Regions from separate parts of the Homo sapiens genome. Here all the other regions are linked to region 4. Evidence: promoter capture Hi-C in 16 types of primary human blood cells and fetal thymus (Javierre and others, 2016). All regions are on one chromosome and are shown on one strand. Each heading gives the region's core, a stretch centred on a gene start or on the middle of the fragment in contact. The rest is flanking DNA. Distances are from core to core; before and after follow the strand shown. Region 1 has its middle 6.6 kb from the start of CXXC1. Region 2 has its middle 4.7 kb from the start of CTIF. Region 3 overlaps CTIF (cap binding complex dependent translation initiation factor). Region 4 holds the start of DYM (dymeclin). Region 5 overlaps SKA1 (spindle and kinetochore associated complex subunit 1). Region 6 overlaps MBD1 (methyl-CpG binding domain protein 1). Region 7 holds the start of MIR4743 (microRNA 4743).

Evidence for each region. Contacts are between HindIII fragments. The CHiCAGO score rates a contact against its expected background, and 5 or more counts as called.
Region 1: a fragment that was not itself captured here is called in contact with the fragment with the promoter of DYM in region 4 in 2 of 17 cell types (total CD8 T cells and non-activated CD4 T cells); the score reaches 5.1 in total CD8 T cells.
Region 2: a fragment that was not itself captured here is called in contact with the fragment with the promoter of DYM in region 4 in 3 of 17 cell types (neutrophils, monocytes and non-activated CD4 T cells); the score reaches 6.4 in neutrophils.
Region 3: a contact is called between a fragment that was not itself captured here and the fragment with the promoter of DYM in region 4, in 1 of 17 cell types (neutrophils). The highest score is 6.0, in neutrophils.
Region 5: a contact is called between a fragment that was not itself captured here and the fragment with the promoter of DYM in region 4, in 1 of 17 cell types (total B cells). The highest score is 7.0, in total B cells.
Region 6: a contact is called between a fragment that was not itself captured here and the fragment with the promoter of DYM in region 4, in 6 of 17 cell types (total CD8 T cells, naive CD8 T cells, non-activated CD4 T cells and 3 more). The highest score is 8.3, in total CD8 T cells.
Region 7: a fragment that was not itself captured here is called in contact with the fragment with the promoter of DYM in region 4 in 10 of 17 cell types (neutrophils, fetal thymus, naive CD8 T cells and 7 more); the score reaches 17.7 in neutrophils.

What each region holds. Positions count from the first base shown.
Region 1 is chr18:50,292,912-50,295,611 of GRCh38, reverse strand. No RefSeq gene overlaps it. Among named protein-coding and RNA genes, the nearest start is that of CXXC1, 6.6 kb to the right of the region's middle. The HindIII fragment of the contact is 1,003 bases long and covers 792-1,794 here.
Region 2 is chr18:48,532,994-48,535,693 of GRCh38, reverse strand. No RefSeq gene overlaps it. Among named protein-coding and RNA genes, the nearest start is that of CTIF, 4.7 kb to the left of the region's middle. The HindIII fragment of the contact is 4,820 bases long and covers 1-2,700 here.
Region 3 is chr18:48,768,999-48,771,698 of GRCh38, reverse strand. The region is part of intron 9 of CTIF (cap binding complex dependent translation initiation factor); the gene reads right to left. It overlaps LOC107985147 (a long non-coding RNA gene), which reads right to left. Exons shown (of 2, transcript XR_001753444.2): 1 at 1-2,700. Among named protein-coding and RNA genes, the nearest start is that of CTIF-AS1, 72 kb to the left of the region's middle. The HindIII fragment of the contact is 1,840 bases long and covers 470-2,309 here.
Region 4 is chr18:49,459,214-49,461,913 of GRCh38, reverse strand. It overlaps DYM (dymeclin), which reads left to right and starts at 1,269. Exons shown (of 18, transcript NM_001353214.3): 1 at 1,269-1,516. RefSeq lists a silencer at 1,291-1,870. The HindIII fragment of the contact is 8,649 bases long and covers 1-2,700 here.
Region 5 is chr18:50,379,956-50,382,655 of GRCh38, reverse strand. SKA1 (spindle and kinetochore associated complex subunit 1) reads right to left here. Exons shown (of 7, transcript NM_145060.4): 3 at 2,406-2,530; 4 at 430-527. Among named protein-coding and RNA genes, the nearest start is that of SKA1, 6.3 kb to the right of the region's middle. The HindIII fragment of the contact is 2,899 bases long and covers 1-2,700 here.
Region 6 is chr18:50,269,472-50,272,171 of GRCh38, reverse strand. MBD1 (methyl-CpG binding domain protein 1) reads left to right here. Exons shown (of 17, transcript NM_015846.4): 16 at 632-703; 17 at 2,354-2,700. The coding sequence ends at 671. Among named protein-coding and RNA genes, the nearest start is that of CFAP53, 4.3 kb to the right of the region's middle. The HindIII fragment of the contact is 1,766 bases long and covers 412-2,177 here.
Region 7 is chr18:48,669,242-48,671,941 of GRCh38, reverse strand. CTIF (cap binding complex dependent translation initiation factor) reads right to left here. Exons shown (of 12, transcript NM_014772.3): 6 at 1,198-1,273. MIR4743 (microRNA 4743) reads right to left here and starts at 1,342; the gene lies at 1,274-1,342. The HindIII fragment of the contact is 6,169 bases long and covers 1-2,700 here.

The DNA of each region.
Region 1 (2,700 bases), core at 44-2,543, 830 kb before region 4:
AGTTGTCCCCTTGCTATGTGTAGTGTGTGACATGGAAAAGGGGATTGGCCCAGGCAGGAGACAGTGCCTGAATAGGTGGTTAACCAGCCATGTGTTCCTGGGTTCCTGCTGCTCTAAGTGACTCTTGAGATTTTCCTGAGCCTGCTTGATTTGATTGTAATTGAATTGTGAGAACTTGCTGTGTAGAGTTGGTCCTGCAGGCTTGGAAATGGGAACAGCAGGTACCTTCAAGGACAGAAACAGTGAAGGAGGCCTGGGGAATGCTGCGTGCTGCAGATTATTGATGGGCCTTCCACAGTACTCCAGACGAAGGCAACTTAAACTGTTGGTCAAGCACCTCTATTCTGTTGTTCCTTCAAACCAACCCCGAGAAGCCACATTAAAAACCCCCTTTGCACATAGACAATTACAGAGATGGTAATGAAACCAATTCTGTGTTCACAGCACTGCAGGAAACACAACTGTGGATTCAATTCACCTTGTGTGGTTTACTCTTCAAGAGATGCTTAGTTCTTACCTTCAGGGAGTTTATAATTTCATTGAGGAAACAACTTGCTCATATATGAAACCATTGCAGATTAACAAAATTACAGGAGTGTTCTGGTGTCTGTAACGGCAACTTTTGGAAGAGAACACAGGGATAATCAAGAAAAAAAATTATCATGAACACAGACCAGTACCAAAGGGTTTTATAATGCTCCATTTTGTGTATGACAAACCTCAGATTTGCTCTGTCTTCTGTAGGACCAAGGACATCATGATCTGGGGCTAAAAAACACAAACTGGAAGCTTCTGCAGGCTATAAAATTCAAGGTGATATTTACAGATGAGCTTTGCGATGGATAGAAACTGACCTATTCAGGATAGAAATTGGTTCGTAGGAGTTGGGTAGGAATAAAAAGTAGAAGAATCTACCACCAAACCAGAGAAGCAAGCCTATTTAATTCTTTTTGGTTTTTTCAGAGGGCGTAAGTGGGAAAGGAAGAAGTCAGATTAGAAAACTGGTGCACTTGTTCCTCTCTAGGAACCTGAGTGTGATAAGAAATGTGGGCCAGGTGCGGTGGCTCACACCTGTAATGCCAGCACTTTGGGAGGCTAAGGTGGACAGATCACCTGAGGTCAGGAGTTCGAGACTAGCCTGGCCAACATGGTGAAACCCCATCTCCACTAAAAATATACAAATTAGCTGGGTGTGGTGGTGGGCACCTCTAATCCCAGCTACTCAGGAGGCTGAGGCAGGAGAATCACTTGAACCTGGGAGGCGGAGGTTGTAGTGAGCTGAGATTGCATCACTGCACTCCAGCCTGGGTGACAAAAGTGAGACTCTATCTAGAAAAAAAAAAAGAAATGTGGCTGTTAGGGACGGGGAAGCTGTAGTAGGGAGGGAGCAGATTAGAATTAAAGCTACTAAACAAGTCCTCCTCATCAATGATATTAAATGACTGGTTCATGACATTTGGCAGTCTTTAAACATTTCAGAGACATCAGCTTGAAAGTATAATATATGAGGAAAAAGGATATTTGTGTCAGGTGTCCTAAGACCATCCTCAGGTTCAATGACTCACTAGAAGAACACACAGAATACAAAAACACTGCTAAGCTCCCAATTAGTTTGTTACAGCAAAAGAATACAGATTGAATGAGCAAAAAGGCTCATAGGCTATAGTACAGGAAAGACCATGCTTCCAGTTCTCCTCTCCTAGAGGAGTCATATAAACAGCACTTAATTATCCCAGAAACAGTGTTGTGATAACATGAATGAAGTATTGCAAACCAGGGAAGCTCATCCAAGCTTTGGTGTCCAGGGTTTTTATTAGGGGATTGGTTACATGAGTATGGAGGGTGCCATTGCTGACCTTGGTTACTCAGTCTCCGGCCTCTCCAGAGTTCATATTGATACCCTGTGGCCCAAGGTCCCCACCACAAATCACATTGCTATCATAAACTATCTGGTGTGGACCAAGATCCTAGGTAAATATAAACATTCTTTTTTTCTTTTTGAGACAGAGTCTTGCTCTGTCATCCAGGCTGGAGTGCAATGGCGTGATCTGGGCTCACTGCAGCCTCCACCTCCTGAGTTCAAGCAATTCTCCTGCCTCAACCTCCTGAGTAAGTGGGATTACAGGCACCCGCCACCACACCTGGCTAATTTTTGTATTTTTAGTAGAGACAGGGTTTACCCATCTTGGCCAGGCTGGTCTTGAACTCCTGACCTCAGGTGATCCACCCACCTTGGCCTACCAAAGTGCTGGGATTACAGATGTGAGCCACTGTGCCCAGCTGAACATTCTTATTAGGCAAGTAATTCTGAGCACTTTAAGGTTATCTCCCAAGAGCCAGTCAAATATCAGATTTTTTTTTCATGTGAAGGTTTGAACAACCAAGGCCTGCTGAGTTAATCTTTTACCGCATGGCACTATTTGGAGAGTTCCCATTCTGGACCTAATTCATATTATTCTCTCAGATGTCTTTCTAGGAGGATGTTAATTTTGCCCATTTTTATAGATGAGAAAAAGTTCTCAGAAAGATTAACTACACTCTGCAATGTAAAGCAGCTAGTATTAGTAGAGCCTAGAATCAAACTCAAGCTGTAACACTTTGTTCTTGAAGGCATGAACTGTAAAATATACCTCTAAAAACTATGACTTAAGATATTGCAATAGCCACAGAATATTTCAGTGTCATTGAAAACATAAGATA
Region 2 (2,700 bases), core at 34-2,533, 930 kb after region 4:
CTCTCCACTCACCCCCGTAGCCATAGCTGTTCCAGGGAAAAGTTACTGGTCAGTCCACACATTGACTGAAGGCCTGGTGGGAGCCTAGGTAGGTGCTGGGGGAGAGAAGCTACCTACCTTCAGGAGCTGAGACCAGGCTGATGCCCAGCAGATAACAGGAAAATGAATGAAGCGCTCCACTGTGTGAGAGTGATGTCAAATGAACTAAGAGTTCCCAGTCGGCTACAAGGATCAGAGAAGGCTTCTGGGAGGAAGGTGGGGCTACATCCACTTGTTACTTCCCACTGGGAGAAGGTCAGCAGTGGCCAAAATTCCTGTTATGCGGTGTTGGCCCAGGAGGCATTGCAGAACTAGTGACTTACTGTGGGAGCTAGAGAGTGGCTTCATCATGCAGTTTGGAGGCCACTGACAGTGCAGAAGGAAGGAAGTTGGTAGTCTAGTGTCTACGCTCTGTTACCGTGGTGTTGGCCTGGAGAGATAACAGCTTGATAGAACCAGGTGAAATTTCACCCATGCCTCATCTCACCTTCCACTACACAACCCCAAAGACCAACACCTGAAAGGCACATGCAAAGTGATCCCCTAAGATTGAAGTCGGTGGTAGAGAAGGGATGTGAATAGAGAACAATGAGCTTGAGAAAAGCAAAAGCAGAATATGAAATAAAGCAATTGAATATTTGTTGGGACAATGCTGTGCCTAAGACATGGCAAGGTACTCTGGGGAACACAGTGTGTGAAACGGGATCCCGGGTCCCACCTGCCCCTCTCCTGCTGTGTGACGTTTCCTGTCTCTGGGCCTCAGTTTCCACACCTGTAAAATGAGAAGGTTGGCCTCAATGATCTCTAAGATCTTCACCACACCTGAAATTCTCCCTTCAAGAATGTTATAATCTCACTGGCAAAAGAAGCAAGAAAATTAAGTAGCCAAAAGGATGAATTTTAAGCTGTTTAATTCCAGCAGAGCAGGAAAGGTTTGTAATATTTGTTAAACAAAGCCCTGAAGTCCATGAGGGAATATAAAATAAGCAGATTTCCTTTTGCAAGATTTAAGGACATGGACTGATTCAATGTCAGCCTGTGAGTCATCAGACATTCCTCAAGTCTCCCAGAGTTCAAGGTCAGACCTCCTAAGTCGGTGGCGTGAGCACCACAGCCTTGTTCATGGTGAAGGCCTGGACAAAGATACACCCCACATCTCTGCAAGAGACAAGTTTCCTTGTTTGCCAGTCTACACTCTAAAAAAAATGGGAGGGGAAGGCAGTGCTGATCACACCACAGGTATACACCCGATCTATGGGATCTTGGGCTAGGCTGGACTTGAGTGGATGTGGCTCCATCAGAGGAACTGAGCCAATCAGAATTCCTCTTGTAAGAATCTGAAGTAAGAGGCTGAGAAACCTCTCTCTGCTCATTGGTGATGGCTGCTCAGGTCAAGGCTTGTGTTTTAGGTGGGTCGAGTGCAAGATAAGTAAGCAGAAGAAGTGAGTGGAGGGGGGAAAGAGGAGGGAGAGGGAAAGAGACATGTTTAGAGTAGCCTCAGTTCCTTACCTTTTCAGTTCTCCCTCACTATGCCTCTCTTGGACTCCATATACCTCTGCGATATCATTTGGATCTGTGTTCCCTCTGAATCTCATGTGGAATTGTAATCCTCAATGTTGGAGGTGGGGCCTGGTGGGACGTGGTTGGATCATGGAGGTGGATTTCTCATGAATGGTTTAGCACCATTCCGTTGGTGCTATCTTCACAATAGTGAGTGAGTTCATGTGAGATCTGGTCATTCAAAAGTATGTGGCACCTCCCCACCTCTGTCTCTCTCTCTCTCTCTCTCTCTCTCGCTTCTCCTTTCACCATGTTACTTGAAAGCTCTCATTTCACCTTGCACCATGAGTAAAACTTCCTGAGGCCTCCCCAGAAGCAGATGTCAGTGTTATGCTTCCTGTACATCCTGCAGAATCATAAGCCAATTAAACCTCTTTTCTTATAAATCACTTAGCCTTAGATATTTCTTTATAGCAATGCAAGAACAGCCTAATACACTCCATATTCTTGTAGTAATCCCCTTTAATTTGCGCTAGGTTGAGTGACTTCCGATCTTTGTAGTTTGAAGAGCCACATCTAGAACAGCCTGAAAGACAGGAAGTGCAGAGAGAGGAGTTAGGCCAATATGATCCCTCTAGCTGGGACTGTCCCCCTGCTGAAGATGCCCTTCCGTTTTCTATCCCAGGTGTCTCCCTCTTCAGTCAGTTTATAAATCCTGTCTGCTCAAGTCTTGTTCTGAAATATCTGCAAAATAATTGCCCTTGAGCCTTCCAGGATCTCTAAGTCCCCTTTCAAAGAACAATAGCTACTATATTAATTGAGCTATTACTATTTACAGAGCAACAAGCGAAACTTTTTTTGTGTGCTTTGTCTCACTTAGTTGGCAAAGCAACTTTTACAGGGGAACAAACTGAGACCGGAAGGGGTGAAGTAGCTTACCAAGGGGCACGCAGCCAGTGGGTAGGTGGTGGTCTACCCAGAGCTGTGGGCCTCAGAGCCAGTGAGTTAACTACGCCCCTCATCTCAAGACATTAGGATCTACCTTCTCTGAGTCCCTGGTGAGCACCTGTACTCCAGCTGCAGGAAATTTTGGAAACATCATTCTTCCTCAATGGTGCATTTATAATAAAGTGTTCTTTCTTTTAAATTGAGACTTCAGAG
Region 3 (2,700 bases), core at 140-2,639, 690 kb after region 4:
CTGGGGCCTGGGACACCCGAGCTGGCCTTCTCCGGTAACCCACTTATCTGCAGGGCCTGCTTCGGCGTGGCAGCCTCAGACAGGGCAGTGCCCGGCCAAGTTCTATCAGGGGATTTAGCAGGGAAAATGAACCCTGGGTGGGGGGTGAGGGCATGCAGGGAAGGGGACACGGTCTGGCAAGGGACACGGGTGATGGTGAAATAATTCCTGACCTGGGTAAAGCTCTCCTGGCCCAGAAGCGAGAGGGAGAAAACCCCAGGCCATTCCCTTTTGTGGCTGTGGCCTGTGCTATTCCCATGCCTGCCTATCCATGCTCCTTCCTCCCCAGTGAAGGAAGCTCCTGGAGCCAGCCAGCTGATGCCTGATGAATACCTTGTGGGTACCAGTATGGTGGTGGGACACAAAGATGACCCAGACGCATTCTTTGCCCCAAGACATCCACAGATACAAGTCTCAGATAAGAAAAGCTTAAACAGGGGAGCCCAGAAGACTTCATGAAAGGGACACATGGTAAATGTTCAAGAGTCAGAGGAAGGTGAGGTCCCTGGGCTGGGAGATCAGGGAAGGTTTCCTGGAGGAGGCAGATTTGACTAGGAGGAAGAGTACACCTGTCAATCCTGGGCCCACCGCCCAGGAAGACAATAGTCTAAAAGCACTCATTGCCTGCCCTCATTGTTCCACATTTAATCAGCGTAGGGGGGGGAAATGGAAATGCTGCCCAAGACTGAGGCATGGGGTGGTCTTTGGGAATCTAGGATGGGATAAAGTTAGAAGGGCCTCCCAGTTCATCCCACCAGGGCAGGGCACCCACACTGATGGAGCCATCCGAGTGGTGTGGCTCAGAGCTGGGGTCCGTGCATGCATTACCTCATTTAAGCTCTACCACAACCCAATCATCCCTTGCAGGACGGAAACGTGGGTGCAGAGACATGTTTTAAATGCTCAAGATCAGCATCGAGGCAGCAATCGATGCTACTGCACAGGTTTGCTACTCCTCAGGCCTCAGCGTTGCTGCCTCAGGGCAAGAAATCCTGTCTAGAGAAATGAGATTCGGGGGCACGACCCACACCTGTCTGCTCCAGATGGCCCAGCTGACCTGATTCATGAAGCTGCAGGCTGGTCTTGCTCTCCCCTCCTGAGCCACCCACGCTCCTAACAACACAGGGCAATGGCCACTTTTCACGGGAAAGGAGTGACTTTTGTCCAAGGCTCCCTCAGCCTCTGCACATCTAGAGTCTCTGACAAGGCCTGCAGTAGACTGCCCATGAGACTTGTAAAAGCCCATGCCGTGCACAGAAAGGCACTTTGGGCTTTCTCAGGAGCGGGGCTCTCTGTGATTTTGAAGAACACAGTAGTGGCGCAGTGGCGCAGTGGCACAGTGGCGCAGTGGCAAAGAGGCAGGAAGCTGGGCACTTGGTTTTGCAGGAAGCTCACTGGTCCCTGGGGGCCTGGGGCAGTAGTTGGCACAGCAGCAGCACCCAGGCCCCCCTGATGATATGATGACTGGACACCTGGCATGCTGCTGTTCTGGGCACTTTCCAGGACTGGCTGAGGATCAGTGGTCATTTTCTTTCCTCGCTTATTTTCAGATTCAAAAATCAAAATGCTTGTTTATGATCCGGTCATCGGCTGCTCTGTCTCACTGAGCACTTCAAAGCTCCAGAGAGAACCACAGGCTTAGCACTCCTGGAAGCCACATGTTCCCCCGCCCCACCCAAACTGAACAGTCAGGGCGATCTGGTCTAAGCACTGACATTGAGGTATCCCACCTGGGTCCTTGAATGCAATGCTTAAGATTTGCACAAACAGATTGAAAGACCACAGTGGAGGGCAAATGAACAGAGACATACAGGACCTGCCACAGTGCATGGTATATAGCAGGTGCTCAATAAGCGTTGAGAAGAAATAAAGATTGGAGAAAAGCAGGTCATATTTACTCATCCCAAAGCAAGTGCAGACAACAAGATTGGCAACGAGGCACACGGCTCCTATCCACTGTGGCTCTGGCCGCAGGGGCAAAGAACATGGATAGGAGTCAGGCATTGGCTCTTCCTGTTGGGGGAGCCCAGGGCTGCCACAGAATCCTGGGCAGGGGTCAAGCTCCTGTGACTGCTGGCCTCCTGTGATGCCAGGCCAGCCTGACGAGGCCTGTTGGTGCCCACCTTCAGGGAAATGTGTGTGCCAACTCTGCATGTCCCTTGCAGGGCACGGGCTTCAGCATGGGGACAGATGGCCCACAGGGGGCAGGGCGGGAGCTCAGATGCCAGCCATTTTTAGAAAAACAGCCCTTTTCTGGGCTTTTGCAAGCTTCCGTGCAGCCTGCCCACGGGGAAAGCGGCTTGCACTGCCTCTGGCCCTTTGCTTCAGCCTTTCTGATTTCTAGCAACTAGTGGAGGGGAGCTCGATGTGGGTATGGCCAGGGCTTTTGCTCAAGCTTTGGAATGCACAGAACAATGTGCTTCTATCCCTGGGTGTGCCTGGCTTGGGCCAACATTAAAATTAGTTTACATGCCTGGAGTGCACATCGGCTCAGCGGTGGGTGTGCAGAAATGAGGGAGGGGGTCTGAGAAGAGGGAGAGGATGCAAGGAGGAGATGGGAACTGGGGCCAGCAGCCTGTGTGGTTTCACAGGGACTAGGGCGAATGGAGAGTGCAGGGGTTTCTTCAGGTACCCTTGACCTCCAGAGGCCCAGAAAGCTCA
Region 4 (2,700 bases), core at 20-2,519:
GCTGGTCCTTCCGAACTCCTGGGCTCAAGTGATCCTCCCACCTTAGCCTCCCAAAGTATTGGGATTACAGGCATAAGCCACAGGGCCCAGTCTACTTTGGGTTTTAATATGTTTTCCTGTCATAATTCTGCAAGCTCAGTGAATTTACTGGCAGTCTATGCTAGAAAAGAATACCTAATATTTGTATAGTACTTTACAGAGTACACTGGCACATATTGACTATATAATGGGAATAACGGTGCTATCTGTTCCATAGGGTCATTTTGCGAAATAATAGTGCATGGCAAATAGAAAATAATCCATAATGTGAATTGTTATTACTACAGTCATGTCAACATTTCCTGTAATGGCAGAATCATCATCATGCATATATTTTAGGTGAGGAAACTGGCTGAGAGAGGTGAAGTAATTGCTCAAAGACGTCAGTGTGGAAACCTCAGCTCATTTGACTTCAAATTCCATAGTTTTGGCACTATCTCATATTGCTACTCTTTCCCGTGGGACCTGTCCTTTCCGACAACTTTGCAGGCAGGGCTAGCCCTGCCAGCTGCCTCCATCAAAAATTATTTTGCTATTTCTCAATTCTCCAGAATCCCACACAATATTGCTTGACTTTGGGATGGTTATTCAGCTGCAATTAACAGAGGCCTTAATAAGGTTAAGCCGCCAGAACGAGCGGTGTAGCATGAGCGAGGACTCTAGCACCTGGCAGGTGAGGTTGACTCTAGCACCCGGCAGGTGAGGTTTTTGCGCTTCTCTCTCTCTCTCTTTTTTTTTTTTTGAGAAGAGTCGAGCTCTGTCGCAAGGCTGGAGTGCAGTGGCCCGATCTCGACTCACTGCAATCTCCGCCTCTCGGGTTCAAACGATTCTCCTGCCTCAGACAGCTACTTTTTGACTCACTGCAATCTCCGCCTCTCGGGTTCAAACGATTATCCTGTCTCAAACAGCTACTTTTTGTATTTTTAGTGGAGACGGGGTTTCACCATGCTGGCCAGGATGGTCTCGATCTCCTGACCTCGTGATCCGTCCACCTCGGCCTCCTAAAGTGCTGGGATTACAGGCGTGAGCCACCGCGCACGGCTGTTTTTGCGCTTCTCGATTTCGCCACGTGGCTTTGCGGTAGCCCAGGAGGTACTAGGAGGGCGGAGGCACGAATAACACCCAAAGGACTACAGTTTCCAGAAGCCCGCGCGCGCCGCGTGCCACGTGACCACCTGGCTGGCGCGCGCGCCTGGGGGTCTGGTCCCTAGCCGCGTTCTCGGTCGCTTCCCTCTTCTCTCGCCGCCTCCTGGCCTCCGCACCGACGCGGCCCGGGCTGGAGCCGAGCCGGGGCCGAGCTGCAGGCCGGACCGGAGCCGGATCTGTACCCGCTGAGACGTGGAAACATGGAGGCCTGAGCCGGTGTGCGCCACCTGGGCTGCGGCGGCGACAGCGACTTCTCCTGACCCCTCTGCCACCCTCCCATCCGTCCGCGGGTCCGTGGAGCTGGAGCAGATCCCCCAGCCGGCTGAGACAGGTGGGCTGTAGCGCCGCCCCCCTCAGCGCGGCCGGGCCCGAAAGCCTGGCTGTCCCCGGCCTCCTGTCAGAGGGGGTCAGGGGCCACCCTCCGCAACCCGGCCAGCGCCCCGGGGCGGCGGCGAAGGGACCCTCCCTTCCCTGCCCGCGGGCGCCTGGGCCACCCGGAGGGGCTGTGCTGACAGCGGACGGACCTCTGTCCGAGTCCGCTGTTGGGAGTTGGGGGATACCGAAGGCCAAGTCGGTGCTTCCGGAGATGGGGCGGTGTTGGTCTGACAAATGGGCGTGTGATGGGCAGGGTGAGCAATAGCTGTTGGGTTTTTCTTTCTTCTTTTTACATTCATAGTTTATCGAGGTATAACTAACATATCAGAAAATTAACCCTTTAAAAGTACAACTCAGTGGTTTTTAGTATATTCACAGGGTTGAGCAGCCATCACCACCCTTAACTCCAGAGCATTTTTAATCACCGCCCCCCCCGCCCCAAAGAAGCTCGTACCCATTAGCAGTCACTCCTCCTTCTCTCCCCTACACTATTGATCTACTTTCAGTCGCCGTGGATTTGCCTGAGCAATTGTGTTTTGACTGAAAAGTGAAAGGGTGGGTGTTTGTGAACTGGGGGCAGTAGTGGGGTTTGAGGGTATTGGTGTGGTAAAGCTGATTGGATAAAGCTGTTCTCTACTGAACAGGGGTAGAGAAGTGATGGGATGATTGTAATCGGCCAGCAAAGCGGGTACCCAGGATAGACTGATTAGGGGGCACAGATGGAGTGAGTTCCTTGAAAGAGGAGAGGGGAAGTTGGAGAGAGGGGTGTGTAGAGCAAGGGTGATGTGCTGAAGGATGAAAACCTGGAGGGTGGAGGCCGTGGAGAGGAATGTAGCGTCCACCAGAGGAACTCAGGTGCTTAGGCTGATGAGTTGAGGGCTCAAGAGAAGAACGAGGTGGAAGGGAAGAGAATCTATAGGAATGGGTGAATGGTTGTTGCAGAGGATGAAATTTATGAATATATGGATTTCTGGAGTGATTATCCTGCTTTGAAGTTTTATTTTAGATAATCCTCTCAGCAACTTGGAGATAGACCGGACAAGTATGAATATTCCCATTCTGTAAATGAAGAACTAGTCTTTTAGAGGTTAGGTGTCTGCCTTAAGCTCATAAACTGAGTACATAGGGCAAAATGAGTTG
Region 5 (2,700 bases), core at 143-2,642, 920 kb before region 4:
ATTTGGCAATGTCTGGAGACATTTTTCATTGTCGTGAATGGGTGGGATGGAGGGATGCTACCAGAATCTAGTAGGCAGAGATCAAGAACACTACTCAATGTCCTATTCTCATAACAAAAAATTAACCTGCCTAAAATGTCAAGGAACAAACGTCAGTTGACAAACTGCTCTCAGGGAAAGAAATGAGTGAAAAAAGAGAGGCTAGAGAGACTTGCCCTTGGCAAACTGGGAAAGAAGTGTTAGATTTTCCTCAGAGACACCAAGATAAGAAAACTGGTGAACATGGAAATACTGTTTTTAGTATAGGTGACAAAAAACTAGATCATCGCTGACAAAACTGCAAGTATATGAAAGAACAAAAGGCTTTGAAGAACTTGTTTTCATGGGTTTATAAATCCAGATAGCAAGAATAATTATAAATACACTTACCAGCTCTGGGTTACTGTTACTTGAGGCAAATGGGAAGGAACGTTTTCTTTAAGATGTTCTATGTCTTTGTAATCTTCTTCAAGAGATTCACAGAGTTCCTAAAATTTAAAAGTGCTCACAAATAAGTCTCTGTCCTCCCCATGTGTGTTTTAAGATATTCTAAAGAGCAGGGAAAACAGTGAACCATAATCACAGTGACTGTGGCTGGACGCGGTGGCTCATGCCTGTAATCCCAGCACCTTGGGAGGCTAAGGCGGGTGGATCATGAGGTCAGGAGATCGAGACCATCCCCACTAACACTGTGAAACCCCATCTCTACTAAAAATACAAAAATTTAGCCGGGCGTGGTGGCACGCGCCTATAGTCCCAGCTACTCAGGAGGCTGAGGGGGGAGAACTGCTTGAACCTGGGAGGAGGAGGCTGCAGTGAGCTGAGATCGCGCCACTGCACTCCAGCCTGGGCGACAGAGAAAGGCTCGTCTCAAAAAAAAAAAAAAAAAAAAACCACATTGACTGGAGTACCGAAAATGCAGAATGAAGTGAAAAAGCAATGAATCCAGCAATAAAAAATTGGTTTCTAGAGCTGTTTTTGGATGGTGGTAATATTTTTCTCTACTGGATTTTTTTCAGGGAACAATCACTATAATCACATTGCAATTACAAAGCAGGACTAAAGTTAAGTCTTTCTCAAATACTTTAATCTTGGGAGATAACTAAGAAATATATAAAGAACTTATGTTTTTCATTCTCATAAATTGCGTTTGTTGGCTTACCAAATGCTCCCCAGTGTTACCTGTGTAACAGCAACCATATTATCACAGCATGGTAATATACCCAGCTGGCAAGCATGAGATGCTGCTTTAGGATGACTTCCACTGTGGGCTACCTACATGCCAGCTTAATGAAAATTTCTACTTGAAAGCTGGGGTGTTTTGGTCTCTAACTTTTACTAGAACTTGAGGCTATGAACTCATACACATTTTAATAAGGAAAATATTTTGTGCCTTTGGATTCCCGCCATCTGGCTCCCAATCACAATGTGAACAGAAATTCCAAATAGCCTTCAGTTCTGAGTTGAGCATTCTCTAGGCCCACACCTAACCCTGGACATTCTTGGGCAGGTTAGAACTGAAATGCCGGTATTGGTTTCTGTTTTGAATTTATATAATGTCTTTTCCTTGAAGAGGTGAATGACATTCATGGATACCAATTCCATTTTGACTATTAGAGTGATAGGCATAATCATGCCCATTCCTATAGCTGAACAATCTTTACAGACTTTAAGGATTATAAGGCTGAATGGGGTCAGGGAGGTCCCTTGTTCAATCCCACTGAGCAATTCCCCAGCTCTAACAATGTGAGGTAATTATGGTACAGATTATTTCCCCCTCAGGAAGTGCACCAGCACTTTTATTAGCTGAACTCAATTTGAAGGCTTGTTTAGAATAAAATGTGCATGTGAATGAGGCTCAAGTTTTTCTTTACCTGAGAACCCTTATATTACCTTTTATAAAAATATAGAAATATAGACATATAAGGGAGCTAAGAAACAGTTCAATATGATCCATTATTTTTTCAGATGAGGTTCTTGAAACCCCAACAGGTAAAATAGCTTTCTCAGGGTGGCAGAGAGTACCAAGGACCACCAAGGTAAGAATCCATATCTCCTCACCCAAAGCAGGTGTTCTTTACATACCACTCTACTAGAACATCATTGTTTAAATTAAAGCTACCAAGAATTATTAGCAAACTCTCCTTTTTAGTAAAGTTCAATTCCACTGGCCATCAGCAGAAAGTAGCAGCTGTGGAGCTCCAAATTCCACTATACTAGGAAAATAAAACATAAATGGCATACTGTACCATTAATAATTTATAAACAAAAAACATTATAAACAAAGCATCCTTAAAAATTACTTAATGATTAGGGAGTTTGTATGTATTGTCTTTTTTACTGCTTCCTCATTAGAGAAACATTACCTTGAGTGAATTGTTGGTTTGTTCTTGATACTGAATTTCCAATTCCAATTTATTTAGAAGTTCATTTATTACAATGATCTCATCTCCTATTTTATTTAATACAGTTTTCAAGGTAGGTTCCTGGCCTGTTATAAACAAAAATAAAATAGAAAACAAAGTGTATAGAAAAGCAGTAGCTATAAGTACTCATGCGAACTCTTAGAATAGATAGCTGTACCTTAGAGAGGGGTGGAAAAAGGTCTACTGCTTTAGCCCCTAGAAAATGACTCCATGGACAATCCTGAAACCTCATTTC
Region 6 (2,700 bases), core at 45-2,544, 810 kb before region 4:
CACACGTAGTTGTGTGATCTCTGGTTGCCCTGCACTTCCTGGAGCGGCCTCTGTGGAAGGGCTTGGGCTGGATCTCTTGAGCCTTTCCTGAGCCTATTGAGGTTATTAACTTCAGATGCCTTGCAGAACTGTCCCTGTAGTCCTGGCATAGAACAAAGGGTAGATGCCTGTAAGGACTAGGGTGGTTGGGAGGACAGAGGAGTGCTGGCTCCTGCAGAATATTGACAGACCCTGCATAGAGCCCCAGACACTGGCGATGTAAACTATTGGCCTAAGCACTTGGATTCCTTTGCTCCTACAAACCAGCCCACCAGGCTAGAAACCCTTTCATCTATACTTGGCCAATTACAGAAGTATTGATTGAGTTCCTGTTGGGTGCACAGCATTGAGGACAATGAGCCCTGCAAAGCTTACCCTTCAGGAGACACAGGATACCTACCTTCAGGGAGCTTATAATCTGACTATGTACAAGCTGTCTATAATGGTAGTTTTTAGAAGATATAAAAAAAGATAAAGGATAATTAAGGGGAAGTGGATGGAGGACACAGAATAGTAGGAAATGGTTTTGTAATGCTCCATTGCGCACATAGCAAACCTCATTCAACATACAGACCTGCTCCCTTTTCCCTAGGTCCAAAGACCTTAAAAAACCTGGAGCTAGAAAGCAGTAGACTGGAGGCTTCTACAGACTGTAGGATTCAAGGTGATATTTGCAGACTGGCTTTATGAGAGACAACACTGATCTACTAGGGGCTGGACCCTAGATTGGTTGCCAGGGCTTGTGTGTGAATCAACCCTAGGAGGAAAAACCTACTACCAAACCAGAAGAGCAGGCCTAAGAGTACTTTGAGCTTCTAGAAGAAGTAAGCGGGAAAGGAAGAGAAAGAGTAGAAAGTTGGTGCATCTTCTCCTCCCCAAGAGCCTGAGTATAAGAAGTTGGATTTTAAGGGTGGGGGAGCTGGGTTGGAGAAAGGTAATATAATTAAAGCCACCACAAAACAACCTAAACAAGCCATGTTCATGAGTAATTGTAAGTGGCTTCTGGATGAGACCTGGCAGTGTCTCTACATACTTCCTCAGGGAGATAGCAATTGAAAATGTAATTGAATAAATAAGGAAAGGAACTGCTATTTGGTGTGTTCCTCTGTGGACCCAGTTTATTTAATCCTTAAAATAATATTTTTGGGAAGACATTGATTTTGTCCATTTATGTGGATGGGAAAACTGAGACTCATTAATTTGTCCAATGTCGAACAGCTGGTGTTAGTAGAGCCTAGACTCAAACCCAGCTTTTAAAGCCCTTGTTCTTTACTCCACTAAACTGTAACCTGTAATCCTGTATGCACTAACAGGAGTTTTCGGTGACCTTGAAAACACAGATTACTATAATTACTATAATAAATCCCTTACATTCCTGTCTCTAGCATGGTTTAGGGAGTGCCAAGGCTCAATGTAGATGGGGTCACCTTGTCAGAGCATCTGTTCATACAGAAACTGGGTTTCCTGCAGACCCCAGGTGCTGCATAGGATTCCTCAAACCCTACAGGATATATCTCCCCACTGGCTGCTGTCCATTTTGCTTGTTACCCTGACTCCCCCTCTTCAGCCAGAGCAGTCTTTGTAACTAAAGCTGCCAGCCTGGCTCATCTTTCCTGACAACGTGCATCTCCTGCCCTGTGATCACCTTTGTGCTTGGCTCCTGCCCTCAGCCTGAATGTGTTCTAGGAGGCTGAATTCCTGCTTCGAGTCCTGCCCAAGAGCCAGTCTTGGCTCAGCCCTACCTCACTCTCTCCCAATTCTTCATTCATAAAGTGCCAAAAAGATTAGACCTGTAATTTGTTAGCCAGCTTTACAGGGCCAGGACTGAGTGAGTGCCTCCTTAAACTTTGTATCCTGTGTGCCTCCCTTGCCTTACCCTAGTCCCAGCCCTGCAGCTTTAAGTAATTCAGACATGGATTAGCCATTTCCCAGTTCTGTCTCATACAGTCCAGCCTCTGCCACCTTCCCCACCCCTTCCTTTATTCCATCCTAACTAGTTCAGCCCTAGTCAAGACTGGATAGACTGATACTGCTTTGTTTCCCCCAGGAACCAACCACCCAACCCCAGTATTCTGGTAATTTTGACAATGATCTATATGAAATTTATTTGATTGACATTTAGACTCATGAGTTAAGCTTCTGCTGACCATTTATGTTAGGGTACAATCAGAGGAGCAGAACCACTAAGATAAAGATTATGTATATATGTATTTTAAGGGATTTATTATAGGGATCTGACCGCATGCCATTGTGGGAGCTGGTTAAACAGTCTCTGTAAGGCTGTTGTCTTTGCATCTAATGCTGGAGCTTGAAGTCTGCAGGGCAGGCACTCGGGAAGGGAAGATGGATGTAAAGTGTGGGAGACCGAGGACACAGTGGAGCCCACGAGCACGAGCTGGAACCCACGAGGATGGCCTGGAACCCATGTCAGTCTCTCACCACCTCCAGCTTCGATGATGTGGGTGTCCTGCAGAAGAAGCTGGTGCCCTTCCTCACAGAGTTAAATATGCATCTGGCCCAGGAATTAGAGAAGCTGAAAGGATGATCCTGGGGAAGGTGGAGCAGCTGCAGGCCTGGCTGCAGGCCTGACTACTGCCCACACCAACGAGGTGATCTAGCAGATACATGGCAACGTGTGAACTGCAACAACGCCTGGTGCCC
Region 7 (2,700 bases), core at 59-2,558, 790 kb after region 4:
AATGTCTGAAATGAAAAATATACTGAATGGGATTAACAGTAGATTTGACACTGGAATAAAATATTAGTGAACTTGAAGAAATAGCAATAAAAGCTATCCAAAATGAAACACAGAGAGTAAAGAAAGACTTTAAAAAATCAGGCAGAGCTTTGGTGAGCCATGGGAAAAGATGAAGAAGCATAGAATACATACAATTGGAACCCCAGGGTTGAGGGAAAGTAGGAGGAATCGTGGCTGAAAATTTTCCAAATTTGATGAAACTATAAACCTACAGATCCAAGAAACTCAATAAATCCCAAGTGGGAGAAACATGAAGAAAACCACCACACCAAGGCACATCATAATCAAATAGATGAGGTCTTAACTGTATGCTCTATTGTCTCTCATTGATAGGCCCAAGGCATGAACAGAGAAGAAACAAAATGGCAAAGGCACCAGGAAGAGATGAATGGATATAGATAAAATAGCAGGAGAAGAATCAGGAGAGAAGGGAAGGGTGGCACAGTGGAGTGTGGTGGTAGGTCATGGTCACTGGCAGCGGCAGACTCAGTCACTGTGGAAGGTCCACTGCTTTTACACCCCTGCAGCAGGCCCAGTCACACTCCTGAGAGCAGCTAGACTCCTGCTGTTTCCACCAAAAGTCCAGCACTATAAGTATCTAGAGACCTGGATTCACTGAGTGAATCCTCTTTGTCCTGGAACCTGGCCTGATTCCAGGAAAGAGGCCCAATCAATAAAAAAAAGAGCAAGCATAGCAGACACCTGGAGGCCAGCAGGGCAAGTCCACTGTTCAAAAGCCTAAAGACAGCCCCAGCCACATTAGAATCTCTTCCAGGCCTGCCAGTCCCACCTGAACACACCACAGGACACTTCACCTGCAGAGAGGTTTCAGGCCAAGGGACAAAAACTTCCAAGTTCACTGAGTTGCCAGGGCATGGTCTATTTCATCTCTAGGGCACATCAGGCCTGCCAGCAGGGCCTGCAGCATCACCGAGTAGGCTGTCACACACACGATCACAATGGGACACCCTGGAGAATGGCAGGTAGCCAGCCCTGCCTATTACTACCATACAGGCGGTTACACTCCTTGCTGGAACAAGCAGCCAGAAGGAGTGCTTTGGTTAGGTCCTGTCCAGGAAGAGGATCAGGACTCCAGGGGTGGGGGTGGGCTGTTAGAGAGCCTGCCCCTGCACCTACCTGCCAGGCTGGAAGGACCTTCTCGATGTCATTCAGGTTGATGCCATCCCCATCTTCCAGCTTCCCTTTGCCACACCTGGACCAGAAAAGACAGAAAGGCATTGGAAAGATGGCTCATTCATGCCTCCTGTCCCATCCGGCCAGCAGGAGAGGAGGGACAGTCAGCAGATACCTGGTGCTGCCCACCCTCAAGCCCTGCAGGGGCTGTCCCACCTAGAGGAAACAGCCCTAGAGAAGCTGTGTGTGTGTGGGGGGGGGGTCCTCCCGTAATGCAACAGCCAACCTGGAGGGAGGTGGGAGAGGAACCAGAGTTCCCCTTGCTCCTTCCAGGCAGAGAAGCTAAGCTCCTTACTCATCACAACTCCTGTCAAAGCCCATCCACCTTGCCCCATTACACTGAACAGAAGATCAGTGGACAGAGACACCAAGCAACTTTCTCAAGGTCACATAGGCTGGCAGGGGCTAGCAGAAAACCCAATAGGGCTTCCTTCCTTTTTGGCTTGACTCTGGGTCAGTCCAGCAAGCCCACTCAGATAGTCTATGCTTTGTCTTCATGTCCTCTGTGAGTGGGCGTGCCCTCGGGCCAGAGAGGCTGGCCCCAACTCCCTGGCCAGAGGTCTGAATCTTTGGCATATTTAAGGGTGCAGATTCCGAAACCAGACTCCCAGGGTTTGAATCCCCGCTGCATCCCTTACCAACTGGGGACCCTGTACAAGTTGTTTAACCTCTCTGTACTCATTTCATCAAATGAGTTTCCTCATTTGTTAAATGAGGATAATAGTGTCTAACATCTTAAGGTGGCTGGAGGATTAAATTAATGAATGTATCTGGAGTGCTTAGATGCTTAGAACTGTGACAGCCCACAGTAAACGGTACATATATACACACATATATAGTCTAGCTTATATATATATATATATATATATATATATATATATATATATATATATAAATGTTTAGCTTGTTTGTTTATAAATGTGTGTGTGTATATTTCTTGTGTATGTATTATTATCTGTATTTACCATTAAATATATCTTAAACATACACACATATGTTTAATGGTAAATACTGGTAATAATAACAAAATTAAAATAAATAATGAAGTAAATATATTGCTACTACTATGACTACTTTCATTACCACTAATATTGTTGCTGTTGTTTAGGCAAAGAGGCAGGAGGGTGATTAATTAAGGACACAGATTCTGGAGCCAACCCAGCCTCATGCAAATTACTCAATTTCTGGGTCTCCTAGTTGCTTCATCTATTGAAGAGAAGATGGTAACAGTTCCTCCCTCTCTGGGTGGTGGCGAGTTTTAAATAAATGAGGCAAACACTTAGAACAGAGGCTGGAGCATGGCCGGTGCATAGTAAGTATTGTCAGTTACTATTATTACTGGTATTGACTGAGGAATGGTGAGAGATGTCCCATGAGTTGGGTCATTTTCCAGCTGCAGAGTTCATACGAATCTCACCTTTCAGAGTAACTAGTTCATTGTTTAAA